2 separate regions of the Homo sapiens genome follow, and region 1 is linked to region 2. Evidence: promoter capture Hi-C in 16 types of primary human blood cells and fetal thymus (Javierre and others, 2016). All regions are on one chromosome and are shown on one strand. Each heading gives the region's core, a stretch centred on a gene start or on the middle of the fragment in contact. The rest is flanking DNA. Distances are from core to core; before and after follow the strand shown.

Region 1 (2,945 bases), core at 410-2,909, 330 kb before region 2:
AGCAAGCCCATGAGCTCTGTCTGCTTCAGTCAGCCAAGTAAAGTGACAATGTAATATACGGAACTGCACAACATGAGAAGTAGGAAAGAAATTGGGCATCTGTGGCCACTCTTTCATTCAACCTTTCTTAACCTTCAAGCACTCACCTGTGTGGCCATGGAGTGGTGAGTGTGGCCGTGGTAGTGTAGGTGATGTGCTAGAGGTCACAATCAAGCTCTTGCGGTTACTTGTCCGACAACTGCAATGAAAACAAAATATGAATTATAATAGGGCCACACCATGGGCCCAGAGACCTTGAGTGGTTTTTAAGGAACTAAAGAGGGACACCATTCCACGGGCCGCACAGTATACTTCTTTAAACTGAACTGGGTCAGCAATTACACTCGGCACCAGTTAGATTCCATAAAGCACTGTGTTCCTCCTTGGAATAACTTTTTTCACTGCCTTGACTTTCATCTTGTATTGCCACTGTGCTTTTCCAATGTTTAGTTTTATTTCCCAAGCAAACACAAGGAGCTCCCTACGGGCAAAAACCATGTTTTAAACAGTATCTAATGAAGAATGACCACTGCAAATTGATTTACAAAATAAAAAGCACAAGTCAAAATATTCTCATATTCTCTAAGAACCCCCCAAAACTATTAATCTATGAAATTATTATTTTTAGAACGTTTAGTCCGTGAATTAAGTAATATTCTCATTTCAGAATAAATGTCAGAACAGCCCTGGGTTTCTTCTATAAACGGGCTTTCCACTACATGTTAATGTCTGAAGCTTTTTCTTCTGGTTGGAGAAAACCAGATGGTGATGAAAAGCCATTTCATGCAACATCTATTACTGAAAAGTCTATATCAATTTATTTGAAAGTCAGTCTATCTTTTGAAGGCATTAGGGAAGTTTGCCATTTATATTCATCCAAATATTTATTGAACACCTACTACACACTAGGCAGTGTCTTAGGAGGGAAGCAGTAGGGAACAAAAGAACAGTCTCTATCCTCATAACTGGAGTGAACAGTGCTGTGGGAAAAGGAAGAGGAAGAAAGAACAGAAAGAGGGAGAGAGAGGGAGAGGGGGAGAGGGGGATAGAGGGAGAGAGAGAGAGAGGGAGGGAGGGAGAGGGAGAAAAGGAGAAAGGAAATAAGAGACTGGTGTGGGAGTGCTAACTAGGGAAGTGAAGTCTGATGAGAGAGCTGAATGATATGAAGGACTCAGACAAAAGTAGAGCTGAGAGGCAGAGAGAAAAGTAAAGGTAAAGGCACTGAGACAAGAACAAATTTGGGATGTTCAAGAAATAGCAAAGAAGTCAAGAGTGGATGACAGGAGGGGAGAATGACAGAAAAAGAAGTAGGTTATAGAAGCTATGGGGAAGGCCACAGCCAGACTCTGTAGGGCTGATGGAAGGAATGAGATCAATCTCAAGAAAGAGATTATCATTAGAAATGATAACCATTTTCCCCTAAGAAACCATCAGGAGGAATCCAATCATGCCCATACCCCTAACTACCTCAGTCACCATGGAATGCCTTCCACTCTCTAACCTGACAGTCTCCCACTACTCTGAACCTTTGAGAAAAGCTTATACTTTGCCTCCTTGAACTCAGTATGTCATCAGCAAACTGCCTATATCCCCAATTTCTCTTCTGAGTGTCTGCTTTAAATTCTAGCTCCAAATGAAACGTTGCTACCTCCCAAGGACACCAAAGTCCTGGCGAAATCCCAACCCTTTACAACCAAGCTTCCCATCTATTTTGCAACTGCACCTGGGAACTTAGAGTGACTGAAGAAAAACCCAGAATCATGCTGGCTGATGTGTCTTTATATTCACAGTGACAAACATCAAGTGGGGCCTCATTACTGCCTGACAATCTTAGCACATTTACCAGAGTAATGTGTTTGCTCACTCTCCAAGACAACTAATTCACATTTTCTCCTTAAACCTCCAATACCCCTTTTCCTTCCTCAAATCTGTACAGAAAATAAAAATTAAAAAAAAATAGCTGGGCATGTTGGCACATGCCTACAGTCCTAGCTACTTGGGTGACTGAGGCAGGAGGACTGCTTGACTCCAGGGGTTCATGGCTACAGTGAGCCAATGATTGTGCCAGAAAAAGAAGAACACGTACAGTTGGGCCAATTAGAAAACAAATAACATATTTAAACCCAATCATACCAATAATCATATTAAATATAAATGTTCTAAGTACACAGCCAGTTAAGGCAGAGATTGTCAGACTGGATAAAATAGCAGGATCCACTTATATGCTGTTATTTGTGAAAGCCCGAAACTACAAACCACCTAAAATATGCACCAACAGATGAGTGACAAACAAATCACAGTATATCCATATAATGGAATTCTACTCAGCAATAACAAGGAATGAATAATTGATTCACACAATGGATGAATCTCACAAATAATTATGCTGAAAGCAAGATGCCAGACAAAAAAGAGTATGTTGTATGCTTTCATGGATGAGTTGAACAATTTGCCTCTCAGGTGTATTCAATCAAAAAATTTGTCCCTGGATATTTATACTAAAATATACTAAAAACAAAAGTCAAACATAATGTTACTTAACAGGAGACTGTTCTGACACATGCGCTAAAAGGGAATTGAAAACATTATTTCCAAGTCAATCATCCCACATAAATTCGACCAAATACGAGTCCAACACATTGTGACGAATTCCTCTCATGGTCTTGCACTTTGCTTTGCATTTATTTCAATAGCACTAGATGTTTTGGGTATGTATGCCAAGAGATGATATGAACTGTGCTCAACTAGGCACTGCAAAATAGGTGGCAAGGTTTGGGCAGAACAGTCACCAAAAATTTCCAAATAACCAATAGCTGGCTGATGGGTGTATCCACCATACCAAAAGCCCATTATTTCTCTCTCCAGAGCATGGCTATAGTGACACTTGATTTCGTGGCTAAAACAGG
Region 2 (2,700 bases), core at 122-2,621:
GGAGATCAAGACCATCCTGGCTGACACGGTGAAACCCCATCTCTACTAAAAATACAAAAAAAATTAGCCGGGCACAGTGGTGGGCACCTGTAGTCTCAGCTACTCGGGAGGCTGAGGCAGGAGAATGGCTTGAACCCGGAAGGCGGAGCTTGCAGTGAGCCCAGATAGTGCCACTGCACTTCGGCCTGGGCGAAAGAGCGAGACTCCGTCTAAAAAAAAAAAAAAAAAAAAGCCGGGTGTGGTGGCAGGTGCCTGTAGTCCCAGCTACTGGGGAGGCTGAGGCAGGAGAATGGTGTCAACCTGGGAGGCAGAGCTTGCAGTGAGCCGAGATCGTGCCATTGCACTGTAGCCTGGGCAACAGAGCGAGACTGTCTCAAAAAAAGAAGAGAAAAGGGTGTTTCTTGGCCGGGCGCAGTGCCTTACGCCTGTAATCCCAGCACTTTGGGAGGCCAAGGCGGGCAGATCACGAGGTCAGGAGATCAAGACCATCCTGGCTAACATGGTGAAACCCCGTCTCTACTAAAAAATACAAAAAATGAGCCAAGCGTGGTGGTGGGCACCTGTAGTCTCAGCTACTTGGGAGGCTGAGGCAGGAGAATGGCGTGAACCCAGGAGGCAGAGCTCATTGCAGTGAGCTGAGATCGCGCCACTGCACTTCGGCCTGGGCGACAGCGAGACTCCATCTCAAAAAGAAAAAAAAAAAAGTAAAGAGGGTTTCTTAAGAAATATGCGGTCACCTCAGAGCTCCTCCATATATTTTGGGAGTGGGAGTGGAGTGAAGAATTTCACCAACAGTTCAGGGTCTTTCTGGCTTCTGGCCAATCTTGGGAGAGAGAAGGGGTTTTTTTCTGGACTTGATTCCCTCATCTGATAGATTCATTCTGTTCGCCCACAGCTTTCATTTCTTGGGCTGTGCTGATTATCTTCGTCTACAGCTGAAAAATGAGGAATCAGGGAATGGGAGTTAGGGAGACTGCTATCCCTGGTGCGACATGGTTTCCAGGCAGAATGCTGGAAAGGTCAGAGTGCCTCCTTTGCCAGGTAGTTCTCTGGATTGGAGAATGGTACAAACTGTTACATCCACTTGGGAGTACAGCAATGAAAAAGATGACACTTGCCTTTTAGAGGCTATTAAATGACCAATGATGTAGTAAGTGATAAGGGCCCAGCCTAGTCTAGGAGGCAGCTGCTTTTTCCTCTTTATTAATAGTCAGGGAAACCAAGCTACAATTAGAGACTTGCCCACGTTCAGACTTTGTAACACTTTTTCAAGCCAGTGGCTCCTCCCAAACGGCCGAGGTTTCCCCACCCATTCTCCTGACCTGCCCAGCCCTGTGGTTGCTGTCCAGGGAGCTAAGGCTCTCCCCAAACAAACTTGAAGATCTCACAGACCTAATAGACACGGCCTTTCCTCTCTGCCTCTGGCTTTATGTCTCTTTCATCCTCCTCTGCCTTTCCCCTGCCCTTGATCCCTTCTGCAGGTCTTGGCTGGTTTCAGGAAACGGGTCCCATCCCATGGACTCCCACTCTGGGGAGCCTGCGCTCCTGCCCTGTGGGACCTGTGACATGGTTTTCCGCTCCTCAGCTCTGTTAGCCACCCATACTCAGCGCTTCTGCATTGGCCACCCGACCCAAGAGATGACATTTGGAGCACAGGCATCAGTTGCCACTGAACCCCAGCGGGCCGCGGTAAGGGCCTCCATGGCCATGGGTGGGGATTCAAAGGAGCCAGGACCTTTATGATTCCTCATCCTACTACACCCTATCCCCAGGTTGTGCCACAAGAACACCAGGGCGTGCCACAAGAACCCCAGGGCCTCCCAGACCAGCAGGCCAGTAGATCTGCTCTAAAGAGGTTAACAGAGGAGGTAGAGCTACCTACCTTCCCCCAGGGCTCAAAACGTTGAGCGTCTTCCCCAAACCTGTAGATCATACTTGGGACAGATTCTGCCCACGCAGAGATCGCGGATCGCTGTTACCTCCAGGTGCAGTGGCTGCGGCTATCCCTACAGGAAATGCGGCCCTGGATAACAGAGGTCCCCAGGGTGTTCGCGGGGCCCTGGACACGTTCCGAGGCGCGGCCTCAGAGTCCCATGTCCGAGGCGGTGGGAAGCCCCAGCGAGCGGCTGCGGGCGCTGTTCAGGACTCGCGCGAGGCGCGTGGCGGAGATGGAAGCGCAGAGCCGGGCCCTGCAGCTACGCGGCGAGGGTGAAGGAGATGGGGGACGGGGACCAAGGACCTCCTCTGCCCTCGCCGTTTGGCTTAAGCTTGCTCGGGCCGGTTCTGACTCGGCCCGCATTCCCTCAGAACTGAGCCGACGCCTCCAAGTTGTGGCCTGTACGCGGGGCGGGATGTCCCGCCTCTTCGGCCTGGAGCAGGAGATTCGAGAACTACAAGCTGAGGCCGGGAGGACGCGGGGAGCTCTAGAGGTGTTGGGGGCCCGCATTCAGGAGCTGCAGGCGGAGCCAGGGTGAGACCCGACTAAGCGGATCCCCGGAACATGCGGCTCCGGGGTGGGAGGGGCGGGCTGGCTGCAGCCCCGGGGCCTCTGATGCGTTACCGTCTCCCTGCGCGTCGCCTGCCACCCCAGGAACCCGCTGAGCTCCCGGCGAGAGGCAGAACTTTATTCTCCAGTGCAAAAGGCCAACCCGGGAACTCTGGCTGCCGAAATCCGGTGAGAGCCGGGGCCGGAGATGGGCA

Evidence for each region. The method cuts DNA at HindIII sites, captures the fragments that hold promoters and counts their contacts. A CHiCAGO score of 5 or more calls a contact.
Region 1: a contact is called between a fragment that was not itself captured here and the fragment with the promoter of CCDC17 in region 2, in 2 of 17 cell types (M1 macrophages and endothelial precursors). The highest score is 8.0, in M1 macrophages.

Annotation. Positions count from the first base shown.
Region 1 is chr1:45,956,679-45,959,623 of GRCh38, reverse strand. MAST2 (microtubule associated serine/threonine kinase 2) reads right to left here. Exons shown (of 29, transcript NM_015112.3): 5 at 147-238. Among named protein-coding and RNA genes, the nearest start is that of MAST2, 150 kb to the right of the region's middle. The HindIII fragment of the contact is 160 bases long and covers 1,580-1,739 here.
Region 2 is chr1:45,622,725-45,625,424 of GRCh38, reverse strand. CCDC17 (coiled-coil domain containing 17) reads left to right here and starts at 1,371. Exons shown (of 13, transcript NM_001114938.3): 1 at 1,371-1,689; 2 at 1,773-1,868; 3 at 1,986-2,208; 4 at 2,308-2,470; 5 at 2,591-2,674. The coding sequence starts at 1,516. The HindIII fragment of the contact is 6,664 bases long and covers 1-2,269 here.